Linked DNA regions of Homo sapiens: all the other regions are linked to region 1. Evidence: promoter capture Hi-C in 16 types of primary human blood cells and fetal thymus (Javierre and others, 2016). All regions are on one chromosome and are shown on one strand. The core of a region is centred on a gene start or on the middle of the fragment in contact, and the rest is flanking DNA. Distances in the headings are between cores, read along the strand shown.

Region 1 (4,006 bases), core at 850-3,349:
GGAGGCCCTCAGAGGGCAGGCAGCAGAAGGGGGAAGGTTGAGGGGGGTGGGCCCTGACCCGAGACAGCCTGGGGCCCTCCCTGCTCCTTTCCTGGACCTGGTGAGGGCTCTGCTCTTTCCCACTGAAAATACACACACACACAGCCACACTCACCCCCACACACAGCCACCCACACCCCCCCACAGACACACAAACACACACACACACTCCCACCCACACTCACACAGCCACACACACCCACACCCACAAACACAGAGCCACACACACACTCCCATCCCCACACACAGCCACACACACACCCATACCCACAAACACACAGCGGCACCCACACACCCACACACACAGACACCCATACCCCCAAACACAGCCCCCCACACACACTCCCACTCACACCCCCCCACACAGCCACACACACAAAGCTACAATACACCCACACAGCCACACACACCCACACAAAGCCACATAGCCACATCCACACACCCAAATGCAGCCACACCCCCCACACCCCCCCACGCACATACCTCCCCACACGCACACAAATACACACCCCCACCCCTCCACACACCTACACACATGCTGACCCCCCACCCATGCGCGCACACACACACTTGCACACCCAAGCACACATACCTCCACATATGCCCACACCCACCTACACGCATGCACACACACACCCAGGCACGCACACACACACACATGCACACACACACACACACACCCACCTACACGTACACACACAGGCACGCGCACACACACATGCACGCACACACACGCCCACACCCACCTACATGCACACACAGACACCCACACTCACCTACATGCACACACGCACACAGACACACACACACACACACCCCAAAATCCTTTCCTGACCTCATCTCCCCTTCCCTCTGCACTTGCTGCCTCCTCCTTTCTCCCCTGCTGCCTGGCTACTGCCCCTACCCCCACCCCAACCTCCAACCCTTAATTGCTGTCCCTAAGAATGTCCTTCTGTGACAGCCCATCCCGTGGGCCTCCCTGGCCTTCTAGAAGCACTCTGCCTTTGCCTTCTGGGACACTGCTCTCCCGGTCCCTGCCATCTTCTCAGTCTCCTTTGCCGACCCCTCTCCCTGGGCAGCCCCGTGAATGCTGATGAGTGTCCTGCCCGCGCCCTGCCCGCCTCCCTGGGCCCGCTCCTTATTCTATGGCATCAGTCGCCATCTGCAAACCGTGGATTCCTCCTCGCTATCCCAGAACTCTCACCTCCCTTCCGGATCCATGGAAGTCCCACAGGCTCATCCAATTCATTACATCCGTCCTCCTTCTTCTCCTAGACCCTGCCGCCCCCAGGCCTAGCCCAAAGCCTGCGCACTGTCCTTGACACTGCTTCTTCCTAGGCCCCTCGCCCAAACTCTGCCTAGTTCGCCTCCTCACTCCCCTCACACTGGGCCCTCCCTTTCCTTCCCCCTCACTGTGCACCTCATGGGACCATGCCAGGGTATTCCCGCAGCCTCCTCGGTGGCCTGCCTCTATCTTCCTCCACACAGCTTCGGGAGGCTCTTTCCAAAGCACACATCTGACCACGTGACTGCCCTGCTCCAGAGCCTTCCGTGACTCCCCATTTCCGAGGGACGAGGTCTGGCCTGCTCCCGCCTGCCTCTGTGACCCCGGCTCAATGCCCTAAAGCCTGAATGTGCGGGTCACGACTGGCCCCTGTGAGTCCTCCGGGCTCAGCCTACCGAGGTCACGTCTGCAGGCAGCCTTCTGGGGACTCCTCACTGGGGGCCACCAGCCCGAGCTGCCCCTTCCCTGCAGGACCACGCCTGGCCGTCCTTCTCAGCAGCCGCGTCCGTCCCCACAGGCAGGTGGCCCCTCGAGGGCAGGGGCTGCGCGGACTCCCCGGCGGCCGAGCCGCGGGTCAGGTGGACGGGGAGGGATGGGGGCGGGCCGCCCGGGAGCGCGTGTGTGGAGGGGGCTCGGCGTGGGTGTCGGGGAGGGAGGCAGCCGTCCGAGTCCGCGCTGGGCGCGCTGGGCCGGGCGGGGCGCGGGCCTTGGCCGTGGCTGTGGAAAGAGGAGGGCGGAGGCCCCGCCCCGACGCGCCCCTCCTGCCGCCCGCCCACTCCGGCAGCCGCGAGGGGCGGCCGGCAGAGCGACGCGGAACCCCGCCGGCGCGGACCCCGGACCCCAACGCCGCCCGCCCAGCCGCGGACGCCCCTGCCCGGAGCCCTCGCCGCCCGGGCCGCCCTCGAGGGCCGGGAGCGGCGCCCGGCGGCCGCGCCCGCAGGTAAAGGCCAGGAGGCGGGCACCGGGGCTCGGGCTGGGGGGCTCCGAGGGCAAGACCTGGGCTGGGCTTCCCCCAACACCATGCGGGATAGCAGGGCCGGCGCCTCGGACTCCGGGGTGGGGACGCGGTGGGGGACTCGGGCCAGGGGGTCGCCTTAGAATGGGGGAGCCCATCCCGTTCCCTGTGCCCCGTTCCCTCCCCGGCAGGATCCCAGTAAAGCCCCCTCCTCCCTTCCTCTCCCAGAAGCGAGGGCTCCAGCATAAGACAGTGCCGGGTGCAACCCCCGACGATGTGGCTCTGGGCGCGTCACCACCTCCCGATCTCCCGTCCCACCTGTAAAGTGGGGATAAAAAAGCCGCCTTCACAGGGTAGTGGAGGAGAGAGGAGGGAGTGAGGGGCCTTAGCATCCCCCCGCTCTCACTCCTGCCCCCATCTCTCTGCCATTGCTGATTTGCTGGAGACCTTCCAGTTATAAGGTTTTTCTGCCTTAGCCCCCAGGTTCCTCCTATTCTAGGTGCCCTGTCAGTCCCCTCGCCCCAAACTGAAGACAAGTTCCCAGGAATGTTCCTGTCAGGGGCTCAGCATCCCCCCAGCTCCAGACTGAGACTTGCAGGGGGTGAGGGGCCGCTGCCTGGCCAAGAGGGACTGGGGTCCCAGGGCCCCAGAACAACCTCCCAGTGTCTCTGCCCTGGGTCTGGAGCCACCCTAGCCCCGGAAATCCTCCAGGTAGAGAAATGCTATTCAGCCAGAGGGCCCAGGAACGCTATTGCCACGGGGAAAACTTTGCTGGTTGTATGTGTGCACGCACGTGTGTGTGCCTGTGTGAGACCATGCTGGGTTCCTGACACAGACGTGCGGCTGACCTCCTTAGGGGTGCCGGAGCAACCAGAAATCATCCCTCCTGTCTGCTATCAGTACCTCTTGCTCAGGCTGGCAGCAGGGGCTCATCCACTCCTCTTAGCAGAGTCCCCTTGGCAAGGACAGCCTCCCAGCAGCTGTACTGGGCATTTGAAAAATCTGGGGGCCGTGGAGCTGGATGGCTGGAGGGTCAGGCAGCCTGGGGTTCCTCTCTGGGGACTGAGCTAAGATCGACTGATCCTTACTGCCCCAAGCAGAGGGGGCCGCAGGGCAGGAGTTGGTGATCTCTGGAGAGACACCATGGTTGGTGGTCTCCATCAGGGCACAGGTGCTGTCACTGGCTTCCCAGTGGACTGGTGAACACCTACAAACCCTTGGACACACAATGACCCTAGATGATAATGAGGAGAAACCACAGACATGCTCACCCAGCCACACACAGCCTTGCACCCTTCTGAGAGCCATGCACAGTCACACACCGACCCAAACATTCATTAGATTCATGCGGACACCCTCCTCTAATGAAACATACACCACCACAAGACACAGGCGGACACATGCACACACACCCAAACTCCTACAGACACATGGCAGGCCCCACGTGGCCCAGCCAGACATACTCAGACAGGACGGCACACACACACATACGCTCACACCCAGACACACTCACCAGGGTCTCTTTCTCTGGTTTCACTTCGTCTACCACAGTGAAAATGAGAATTTCCGCTCTTTGGCTCAGAGGAAGGGGAAAGAAAATATGGAAGTGAATGTGTCTGTTAGCAAGAGGGAGGAGAAAGATACTAAGCAGGGCTGTCAGCCTGAGCCCCTGTACTCCACTACCTTCTCTGCTCCTGCCTGAGCCGGAACAAAGGACGCACAGCCCC
Region 2 (3,673 bases), core at 63-2,562, 270 kb before region 1:
TGCTTCCTCTCTGGCCTCTTGTTATACCACTCTCCCCAGCTTCCCTGGCCTTTCCTGTGTTCCTAAATTGTCAAGGTCATTTCCCCCAGGTTCTTTGCATGAACTGTGAAAAGAAAAAATTTAACTTTTAATTGGTGATTTGACTTTTTTTTGCCAAATTTGTTAAATCTGACTTTTATTTGCAACTCTAGAATCGGGCAACACTTCATTCTATAAAATGGAATGAGTGTTCAAATGAGCTGAGCAGAGGAGATTGGTTTTACAGCCAGAAAAGGGCTGAGGAAAGCAGAAACAGAAAACAAAAAGATTGGTTGTTTCAAAGTTACTTTCCTTGTAACTTTGAAGGCTAAAGCAGAGGGGACTTCCTTATCCTGCCAGCTAAAACAGGATGGTTTGGAGATCTAGCTATCTCTCACTCTTCTGATTTATCGGAATATCAGATAAACAACTTAGTTTCCACTTGGTGATGTAGAACTTTAGCATGAGTGACTCCATTTTGGTTCTGTTGGGCTTGGTGCAGGAGCCCTGTTCAAACCAATGGCCTCCAATTTTTTTTTTTTTTTGAGACGGAGTCTTGCTCTGTTGCCCAGGCTGGAATGAAGTGTTACTTTCTGAGCTCACTGCAGCCTCCACTTCCTGGATTCAAGCAATTCTCCTGCCTCAGCCTCCCAAGTAGGTGGGACCAGAGGTGTACGCCACCACGGTGGGCTAATTTTTTCTATTTTTTGTAGAGACAGGGTCTCCCCATTGTTGCCCAGACTGGTCTCGAACTCCTGGGCTCCAGTGATCCTTCCGCCTTGTCCTCCAAAGTGCTGGGATTACAGGTGTGGGCCTCTGCACCCGGCCCTGCCTCCTATAAATTTTACTTAACAAACTGTTCCCGCTAATTGCAATGCTCCTCCCATAGTTTTCACAAGCTTGGCTTCATGTCACTAATCTCAACTCAAATGTCACCTTCTCAGGGCACCCCTGACAATCCAATAAAAGACCACCTTGTCACCATCACATCACACCTTTAATCTTCTGAAGAAATTTTTCCCTATTTTTCTTCTTTGTTTTCTTAAGACTCTCTCCCCTGCAGCGCCATCAGCTCAGGGAGCCACTTGATCTTGGTCACTGCTCCATGCCGGAGCCTGGGAAGGAGCCTGGCCCAGGTCGCCGGTTCAATGAATGCGTGCGGAATGAATGAACGACTCTAGTGAAAGAGACTCCAATGACGCAGGCCGGGATTTGCGGAGCACGAGCCCCGCGCCGCGAAGCATTCTGGGGATTGTAGTTTCTCCGTGACGCGGTGACTTGCAGAGCACTGACGCACTCTGCGCCCGGAGGACAGAGCGGCCCGGTCGCCGGCATGGTTTCTCCGTCCTGCTGCAGCCGGCGGGAGGCAGCCAGTCCAGGCGCCCGCTAGCTTCGGCGGCGACCCAGACGGGGAAAGCGGAAGGAATGTCGCGTGGTGGGTCCGGGTCGGCGGTGCAGGGAGCCCCGGGGCGGAATGCGGGGGATGCCAGGACCTCCGGAAGGAGGTGCCGGAGCCCAGGAAGCGTTTTCTTCCCCATTTACCGAGTATAGCTCCTTTCCCCAGACCCGCTCCCGCTGCTCTGAGTAAGCGGTGCTCATCCCGTTTTACCGGTAGCTTAGCTAGCTTGGAGAAGCTAAGTGGTTTGCTAAGTGATCGCCCTCCTAGGAGGTGGCAAAGCCTGTTCTAGAACCCGGGCCTGACTCGAGGTCCGGTGACTGCTCTTTGCAGTCGCAGCAGCAGCCCCATACCTTTGCTTGATCGCAGATTCATCAGGCTGCAGCCGGGTGGCTGGTCGTTAGGCCATGCCCAGGGACCTAGCTCCCAGGCCCCCTCGTCACTGGCCTAGTCTGGCTTGCCACGCTCAGTGCCACAATGCACAGCCCTGGACGGGATGCTGAGTGAGGTCGTAAAGAGAGAGCGTTCCACCCCCTTTAACTCAGGTCTGAAAATAAGGGATAGGTAAGACATAGTGCACTAATACATTATCAGGGCATGTTGAAATCAAAGGAGAGTACCTTTAGTGGAGTGTGATTCTGGTAGCTTTGTTTCTCCTGTAGTTTAATAAATGTGGAAACAGGTTCAGAGACATTAACTTTTCTAGGTTTTCATAATTAGGGGTGGAGTGGGGATTCCAACCTAGGTTTCTCTACCTTCAAAACCTATGTACCTTATATAATACCGGTTGGGGGTTTTTTTCCCCAATTCATTATCCAGATTTATTTTCTTTTTTTTTTTCTGAGAGTCTCGCTGTGTCACCCAGGCTGGTGTGCAGTGGCACAATCTTGGCTCACTGTAACCTCTGCCTCCTGGGTTCAAGCGATTCTCCTGCTTCAGCCTCCCAAGTAGCTGAGATTACAGGTGCGCCCATGCCCAGGTAATTTTTGTATTTTTGGTAGATACTGGGTTTCACCATGTTGGCCAGGCGGGTCTTGAACTCCTGACCTCAGGTGATCCACTCGCCTTGGCCTCCCAAAATCCTGGGATTACAGGCGTGAGCCCTTGCACCCGGCCTCATTACCTTAATTTCTACTTACATAACAGCTGCATGGTGTAGACCAATAGTTCCCAGAGTGTGGGCCCCTGACCAGCAGCATCAGCATCACCTGGGAACATGTTCAAAATGACTTTATCTCTGGGCCTCACCTCAGACCTGAGTCAAACTGGGAGTGGGGCCCAGCAAGCTGAGTTAACAAGCCCCTCAGATGATTCTGATACACACTAATGTTTGAGAACTACTGGTGTCAACCAATGATTCTCAAACCTTAACGTGTATCTAATTCACGTAGGGGGTCATGTTAAAATGCAGTCTGTTTCCAGCCAGCGTGGAAGATGGCAGTGAGCCACTCAGTGAAGGAGTGGATTTTATCTCAGAACAGGCTTGGGGAGAGACCTGAGATTGCGCATTTCTAACCAGTACCCCTCAGCACTTTGGAGTTATCTGGGGAGCTTTCTTTTTTTTTTTTTTTTTTTTTTTTTTGAGATGGAGTCACTCTGCTGCCCAGGCTGGAGTGCAGTGGCACTCCACTTGCAGCTCACTGCAAGCTCTGTCTCCCAGGTTCACGCCATTCTCCTGCCTCAGCCCCCCGAGTAGCTGGGACTACAGGCGCCCGCCACCACGCCTGGCTAATTTTTTTGTATTTTTAGTAGAGATGGGGGTTTCACCATGTTAGCCAGGATGGTCTTGATCTCCTGACCTCATGATCCGCCCGCCTCGGTCTCCCAAAGTGCTGGGATTACAGGCGTGAGCCACCGCGCCCAGCCGGGAGCTTTTACAAAATAGGATACCTGGGCCCACCCCTCTAACCAAACGAATCAGAATCTCTGGGGTGGGGAGGTTGGGTTAAAAACTCACCAGATGATTCTAATGCACACCTGGTGTGAGGTTTGGAGCCAGACGGCTATGGATTTTCTTTTTTTTTTTTTTTGAGACAGAGTCTCTCTGTTACCCAGGCTGGAGTGCAGTGGCGTGATCTTGGCTCACTGCAGCCTCCACCTCCCGGATTCAAGCGATTCTCCTGCCTCAACCTCCGGAGCAGCTGTGATTATAGGTGCTCACCACCATGCCCGACTAATTTTTGTATTTTTAGTAGAGATGGGGTTTCACCATATTGGCCAGGCTGGTCTTGAATTCCTAGCCCCAGTGATCCACCCACC
Region 3 (3,920 bases), core at 1,397-3,896, 280 kb after region 1:
TTATTGTGCCTAAGAAACTTGCCTGTCATGATCTTTATCCACCAGATGATACCTTGCCCTAAATGCTACAAGCCGGGCATAATATGCAGGGGCTGGAATAGAGACTGAGCGAGTGCACCTCACATAGGTGTGACACAGCTGGTAAGTCAGTAGCTGGAGTTCATCTGCAGTGAAGCAGTTGTCATCCCACAAGACCTGGTAATGTGAGGGACGGCTGGTTCCCTGAGGAGAGAGTTTTATGATTAATGTTTTTTTTTTGTTCGTTTTTTGTTTTTGTTTTTTTTTTTTTTTTTTTGAGATGGAGTCTCACTCTGTCACCTAGGCTGGAGTGCAGTGGTACGATCTTGGTTCACAGAAACCCCCGCCTCTGGACTTCAAACAATTCTCCTGCCTCGGCCTCCCAAGTAGCTGGGACTATAGGTGCACGCCACCATGCCCAGATAATTTTTGTTTTTTTTAGTAGAGATGGGGTTTCACCACATTGGTCAGGCTGGTCTCAAACTCCTGACCTCAGGTGATCTGCCCATTTCGGCCTCCCAAAGTGATTGGATTACAAGCGTGAGCCACCATGCCTGGCCTGATTAATATATTTCTGACATGACACGAGAAGAGAAAATAATTGAAACCTACTCCTTAAACTCAGAAATACTTCTGCCTAGCACACCTACAAGCAGATACCTAGACCAAAAGATAATTCTAGGATACAAGCATTAACAAAGTTAGGCACGGTGTTAAATAACAAGTCGACTCAAGCTAGTTGCTGAATTTGCAAACATCTCCCTATCAAGTCAAAGATCTGAACCAGCTTCCAAATTACCTGAATTCCTGCATGACTACAGAGGTAAAAGTCAAACTCAGATGGATGTGTGATGGTACTATCCACTGTAGTGCCTGCTGGTACATTGCCACTTTTCCCTACCTACAAAAAACAAAAAAAAGTAATTAGTCATCAAAGTGCCAAACTGTGGTCAGGCCATTTTTTTCTTTTGTGTGTTAATTGGGAGCAAGTTGGTAAATGTCTCTTAAGTCTTGAAAATCACTTTCATTCAAGATGTTGAATCCTCTGTAACTTTCCCTTAGCCCAACCATTTTAACCTATAGTATTTTCACAAACAAATATGTTCCAGGATCTCTTCAGGAGGATACGGACAAAAATATTTTACCCGTGGCTTTGGGCTACAACATTATTATGTATTTACAGATGACACAGTGGTATGTTCACAAAGGGAAAAAACATTTAACATTTAAGATAGATAAACTTTCTGAGAAAAAAAGTTTTATTCCTTACTTGGAGTAAAAAAAATTCACAATTTTCAGTAAAAGATTAAGGAATCTTTAAACTGGTTTACCAGGTTCAACATAACTAGTACTTTTTTTTTTTTTTTTTTTGAGACAGCGTCTCACTCTGTCACCCAGGCTGGAGTGCACTGGGAGGATCACAGCTCACTGCAACCTTGGACTCCTGGACTCAAGGAATCCTTTCACCTCAGCCTCCTGAGTAGCGGGGGCTATAGGCACACATGCCATCATGTCTGGCTTTTTTTTTTTTTTTTTTTTGAGACACGGGGTCTAATTTTGTTGCCCAGGCTGGACTCAAACTCCTGGGCTCAAGCAATTCTCCCACCTTGGCCTCCCAAAGTGCTAGGACTACAGGTGCGAGCTACCACATCTGGCAATAACAAATACTTTATTAATAATAAAAAAAAAGTCACTGGCAAATGGTTATCAGGAAGAAAGCACTGAAATGGGAACTAAAAAATCAGTTTCAGATCTAGGCCTAGCCTTGCAACTATATACCTTGAACAAAGCTTATTATCTTTATACCTCAATCTAATCATCTATAAAATTAGGTGATGTTCTCTTACCCTTTTAAAATTCCAAGCAAAAACTCTACAGACAAAATTTGAAAATCAAATTTCTAGGAAGGCAAGAGGGGAACTTCAGAAATGGATTACAAGGGAAGGAATTACATCTTGCTATTTGGTCACCCTCTTCTGCTGTACAGCAGAGTTCAGTATGAACACATTTCTTTAGCATACAGGCACAAATTTGATGGGAGTTTATTTGGCTCCATTTTAACTATTGTTACCTTAAGCTGAAGATCATACACCTATGCATACATAACTCTATGAGTATAGAAAAATCTCCTTCCATCAAATGCATATGTGATCTTGGGTTCCTAGCTGGATCAGAAGAAATCTAGTTGGTTCTAGCATTTTTTTTTCCCCAAAGTGTGTTCTTTAGGAATATTAGCTTTGCAGGATGTGTTTAGGTATTTTATGGTGAAACAAACCTGAGAAATATGGGATCAAATTAAAGTTAAAAGTATTTTTCTACTGTATGACTCAAAACCTTTATTTAGTCATGTATAATCTTTAAAAGGGATATAAAGTATATAGCATTTTCTAAATTTATTTTACCCTTAAAAAAAAAAAAAACTCTCTGGTTCTACATATGACAGCCTGAAGAGGTGATGCCTTGGAGAAAAGGGAATCCAGGCCTTTTCAATTCACCAGTTATTGCTTGAGCACCCATATGACTGCTAGGCTCCGCAGCAGATGTTGGGGATGACAGCCAGGGGCATCAAGAGAACTAATAAACTTGCCTTCCTGACTTCATGAAAAGTGTATACAATAAACTGTAACACAATGTCATAAGGGCATATGGGAAGCATTGGGAAAAGCTGATGAGGAGGAAATAGGTGAGCCATGCCTTATAAGTAGGAGCTGAAAAGGGAAGTTGGGTAAAAAACAGGAAACACTCCAAATACCCCTAAACTCAGAAATGGATAAGCAAACTGTGGCTCATCCACATTATGAAATACCACTCACAATAAAAAGGGGCAAATTACTGATATATACACAACTTGGATGAATCTCAAATGCCAGACTCAAGGGCTATGATTCTATTTATATGATGTGCTGGAAAAAGCAAAACTGTAGGAACAGAATACATATCAGTGGTTGCCAAGGGCTGGGAGTGAAGGAGAAAGGTTAACTACAAAAGGACACCTGAAGATTTTTTGGTATGACAGAATTATTATACAGTCAGCCCTTGGTATCCACAGGTTCTGCATTCAGGAATTCAACCAACTGTGGATATTCTTTAAAAAGGTTTGGATATTCTAATTATACCCTGATTTGATCACTGCACATTATTTGTATAAGAATTCCTATGTAACCCATAAATGTGTATAATTATTATGTCAATTAAAAATAAATAAAAATATAAATTTTAAAGACCTGACACAAATACAGAAAATTGTTAACATGTTTAAAAATTTAATTTTAATATGAAAAAAATTAAAAACAATAAAACATAGCATTTACACTGTATTCGGTACTAAAGCAACCTAGAAAAATATTTAAAATAATTCAACAGTAAAAACTTATACACATTTTAAAATATAGTATAACAACTATTTAAGCCTTTACATTGTATTAGGTATTATAAGTAATCTAGAGATCTTTTAAAGCAAGCTTGTCCAACATGCAGCCCAGGATGGCTTTGAATGTGGCCCAGTACACATTTGTAAACTTGGGCCGGGAGCAGTGGCTTTCATGCCTGTAATCCCAGCACTTTGGGAGGCCAAGGCAGGCAGATTACTTGAGCTCAGGAGTTCAAGACCAGCCTGGCCAACATGGTGAAACTCCATCTCTACTAAAAATCCAAAAATTAGCTGGGCATGGTGGCATGTGCCTGTAATCCCAGCTACTCGGGAGGCTGAGGCAGGAGAATCACTTGAACCCAGGAGGCAGAGGTTGCAGTGAGCCGAGACTGAGCCATTGCACTCCAGCCTGGGTAACAGAGCGAGACTCAGTCTCAAAAAAAAAAAAAAGACCAAAAACAAATTTGTAGACTTTCTTAAAACATTATGAGATTTGTTTGTGATTTTTTTTTTTAGCCCATCAGCTATGGTT
Region 4 (3,524 bases), core at 718-3,217, 320 kb before region 1:
CACAATAGGCCTGTAAGATAGGTGCTATTATGATCCCTATTTTACGAAGGAAACTGAGGTTAAACAAGTTGCTTGAAGTTTATATAGCCAGTAAGTAGAGCCAGGTTTCAACCCATAGAGTCTTGATTCTCACCGATTTCTCTAGCCAACTGCATTTTTCCTTATTTGGTCTCCTCTTGGGATCTCCCCAGCTGCCTTTGTCCTCAGAAGCTTTCTTCATAGTGGTCCCATCATTATTCGCTTCTTTTTACATGGAAATCATGCATCTATATATATAAAAAGTAAAACAGAAACAAATGCTGACATTTTCCTTTTAATTCACATTTCAAGTTTTCTAATTTGAGCAGTTCCATCTGTCCTCTAGAAAGGGAAATCTTACATTAATAAAAAAAAAAGAAAAGAAAAGAAAACTCAGATTGTATACAAAGAAACTCTTTTCTCTGCCTGTTCTTGGAATTATTCTTCCTCATGGAGGCTAGCGTCTTTAAAAGCCTACTACTGAATGATATGTATTCTTGTAGCATTAGAGAGCGGGGCTTCTTGGGCCTTTCAAGATGAACCACAGGATAGCTAATCCTCCTCAGTTTACTCTCTTCTTAGGCCAGTCTCTGTAAGACATAGCCTTTCTTGAGCTTTTTTGAAATATGTTGTTTATCCATCATCCTTTTAAAGGTTTCAAATAGAAGGCAGTGTGCTCACATTAGACATTAAATGCCAACGTGAAAAGTAAAGTTTCATAGATAAGATCATTGGAATTGGTATGTTTAAAGCCTCCTTGAAAATAATGTTCTTGCTTCATGAACTGGTGTTTTCTTTTTGTATGCTTCATGTAGATGAATGGACAGAGGTGGACAGAAAACGAGGTATGCTATCTCCGGGCTGCATGTGTTCAGTGTGCATCCACAGGTTCACTCAGGCCTTTATCAGCAGGGCTTAAAATGGGACCGCTTGAAACATTTCAAAGTCAAAGTAAGAAAATAGGCATGAGTTTGTCTTTAGCTGAGATATTGGTTATACATTTGAATCTTTTACTTAAGAGGAAGAAATACAGCATGTTAAGATGAAAACTAAGCAAACTCTGACCAAAAAGCCACACTGTACTTGAGGGATATGTCTCCTTTTCTCAGTTCCAAGCTTTGCTGGGACAGCTGGGGCAATAGCCATACTTTGGGGTATGTCATCCTATTTGGTAGTCCTTAAAACAACTTTGTTTTGTCATGTAACCAAAGAATTGTGCTTCAACATGAGTGACCCTCCCTGAGCCATTCTCCTAAGCTCACAGAGCAACCGAGAAAAATTGAAGCATGTAACTGCATGGCTGCCAGGACTGTGGGCAGAAGGCATGACATCATGCATGCAGTGTGGCCTCATCATGCAAAAGCTTCAGTTTCCCCTTACCTACTGCAAGCAGGAAACCTGAAAAAGTTGTCGACTCCTCAGAATAAAGCCTTAGACTTTCTCAGCCTTTAAATAAATCTCAGATACCTTCTGTCATTTGACATTTGGGTGTGGTGTGTGCCTATCATCAGCCATCCTCCTCAATATTTTAAATGCTCTCACCACACCAAGTATGCTGGGAAGACAACCTGTATAATATTTAAGAGGCCAGGTGCAGTGGCTCACACCTGTAATCCCAGCACTTTGGGAATCTGAGGCAGGAGGATCACTTGAGGTCAGGAGTTCGAGGCCAGCCTGGCCAACATGGTGAAACCCTGTCTCTACTAAAAATACAAAAATTACCTGGGCATGGTGGTGGGCACTTATAATCCCAGCTACTTGGGAGACTGAGGCAGGAGAATCACTTGAACCTGGGAGGCAGAGGTTGCAGTGAGCCGAGATCTTGCCACTGCACTCCAGCCTGGGCGACAGAGCGAGACTCCACTTCAAAAATAATAATAATAATAATAATATTTAAAAGCACAGGCATTAAATCAAACAGACCTAATTCTAATTTCAGCTCCATCACCAGCTGTGTGACCTTGGACTTTAAACTCTCTGATTCAGTTTTCCTCCTTAATAGAATGAGGATAATATAAAACGATAAGTGGTCTGGCAGGAAAAAAAAATGAGGATAATAATTCAGAGTTGTCTTGGAGTTTAAATGAGATAATGCATATAAAGTTCTAAGCCCAGTGCCTGGGACATAGAAAGGATTGAAACATGGTAACTATTCAGGAGGGTTTCCTAGCCTCTCTCTAAATTCTTGGCTCCAAATTTCATATTCCCATAAACAAGTCAATTTAGAGCAGAGGTAATTGGTAAAAACTTGATTGCTTTCATCAAGATAATTATTTCATCAGACCAGTCTCGAAAAAAAGCCCAATTGAAGTACTTGGTACACTTTATTACATTTCACAACCATCGTTTGACACTTCTTGAGCAATTTTTGACCCGTCCCTCCCTTGATGCATAGCAGAATTTCAGGTATGAAGTGTGGATTTTGAGAGCTTTTCATATACATAATTGAATCATTGAAATTTATTTTAACATAAATGTTCAAAAATAATGAACAGAAACTGGCTTCATAATCTGAACCCAGGACTAGAAGCTTGCTATGTTGAGAACCCAATTACCAACTTTCTGAGGCTCCTGTGAAAAATCCCTTCCCTCCCCTGCCTTAGCCTCCTTTTTTTTTTTTTTGAGACGGAGTTTCGCTCTTGTTGCCCAGGCTGGAGTGCAATGGAGCGATCCCAGCTCACTACAACCTCCGCTCCCAGGTTCAAGCAATTCTCCTGCCTCAGCCTCCTGAGTAGCTGAGATTACAGGCATGAGCCACCACGCCTGGCTAATTTTGTATTTTTAGTAGAGATGGGGTTTCTCCATGTTGGTCAGGCTGGTCTTGAACTCCCGACCTCAGGTGATCCACCCACCTCGGCCTCCCAAACTGCTGGGATTACAGGCGTGAGCCACTGCGCCCGGCCCCCCTTAGCCTCTTCCTATTGAAATCCGGCTCCTAGTATATTCCGGCCTCGTGAAAAGTATGCAGAACTCATTTGCATGCCAAAAACCAACACTTAGACTAATGGGCGGGTCTGATTAAAACTATTTCTTCAGGGATGTTAGGATGAAGGGAAAAAAATAAAAAACAAATTACTTTTTTTTTTTTTTTTTTTTTTGAGCTGGAGTCTCGCTCTGTTACCCAGGCTGGAGTTCAGTGGCGCGATCTCGGTTCACCGCAAGCTCCGCCTCCCGGGTTCACGCCATTCTCCTGCCTCAGCCTCCCGGTAGCTGGGACTGCAGGCGCCCGCCATCACGCCCGGCTAATTTTTTGTATTTTTTTTTAGTGGAGACGGGGTTTCACAGCGTTAGCCAGGATGGTCTCGATCTCCTGACTTCGTGATCCGCCCGCCTCGGCCTCCCAAAGTGCTGGGATTACAGGCGTGAGCCACCGCGCCCGTACGCTAATTAAATTTTTTAAAAAAACTATTTCTCAGGTTTAACCTAAAGATGATGTGCTGCTTCTCTAGGGCCAGGATAACATCTCCTTCCTCTTTGTGCCTGTGGTGTTTATTTCACTGTCTGGT

Evidence for each region. The method cuts DNA at HindIII sites, captures the fragments that hold promoters and counts their contacts. A CHiCAGO score of 5 or more calls a contact.
Region 2: a contact is called between the fragment with the promoter of LSM10 here and the fragment with the promoter of COL8A2 in region 1, in 1 of 17 cell types (endothelial precursors). The highest score is 5.0, in endothelial precursors.
Region 3: a contact is called between a fragment that was not itself captured here and the fragment with the promoter of COL8A2 in region 1, in 1 of 17 cell types (megakaryocytes). The highest score is 5.4, in megakaryocytes.
Region 4: a fragment that was not itself captured here is called in contact with the fragment with the promoter of COL8A2 in region 1 in 2 of 17 cell types (naive B cells and total B cells); the score reaches 6.0 in naive B cells.

The regions. Positions count from the first base shown.
Region 1 is chr1:36,123,315-36,127,320 of GRCh38, reverse strand. COL8A2 (collagen type VIII alpha 2 chain) reads left to right here and starts at 2,099. Exons shown (of 4, transcript NM_005202.4): 1 at 2,099-2,264. The HindIII fragment of the contact is 11,810 bases long and covers 1-4,006 here.
Region 2 is chr1:36,395,547-36,399,219 of GRCh38, reverse strand. It overlaps LSM10 (LSM10, U7 small nuclear RNA associated), which reads left to right and starts at 1,312. Exons shown (of 2, transcript NM_032881.3): 1 at 1,312-1,453. RefSeq lists enhancers at 743-1,454, 1,455-2,167. The HindIII fragment of the contact is 5,014 bases long and covers 920-3,673 here.
Region 3 is chr1:35,847,156-35,851,075 of GRCh38, reverse strand. It overlaps AGO4 (argonaute RISC component 4), which reads right to left. Exons shown (of 18, transcript NM_017629.4): 16 at 818-919; 17 at 23-222. Among named protein-coding and RNA genes, the nearest start is that of AGO1, 34 kb to the left of the region's middle. RefSeq lists a silencer at 1,507-1,659. The HindIII fragment of the contact is 1,671 bases long and covers 1,811-3,481 here.
Region 4 is chr1:36,441,343-36,444,866 of GRCh38, reverse strand. The region is part of intron 1 of OSCP1 (organic solute carrier partner 1); the gene reads left to right. LOC107984940 (a long non-coding RNA gene) reads right to left here. Exons shown (of 3, transcript XR_001737976.2): 2 at 134-266. Among named protein-coding and RNA genes, the nearest start is that of OSCP1, 7.3 kb to the left of the region's middle. The HindIII fragment of the contact is 1,167 bases long and covers 1,384-2,550 here.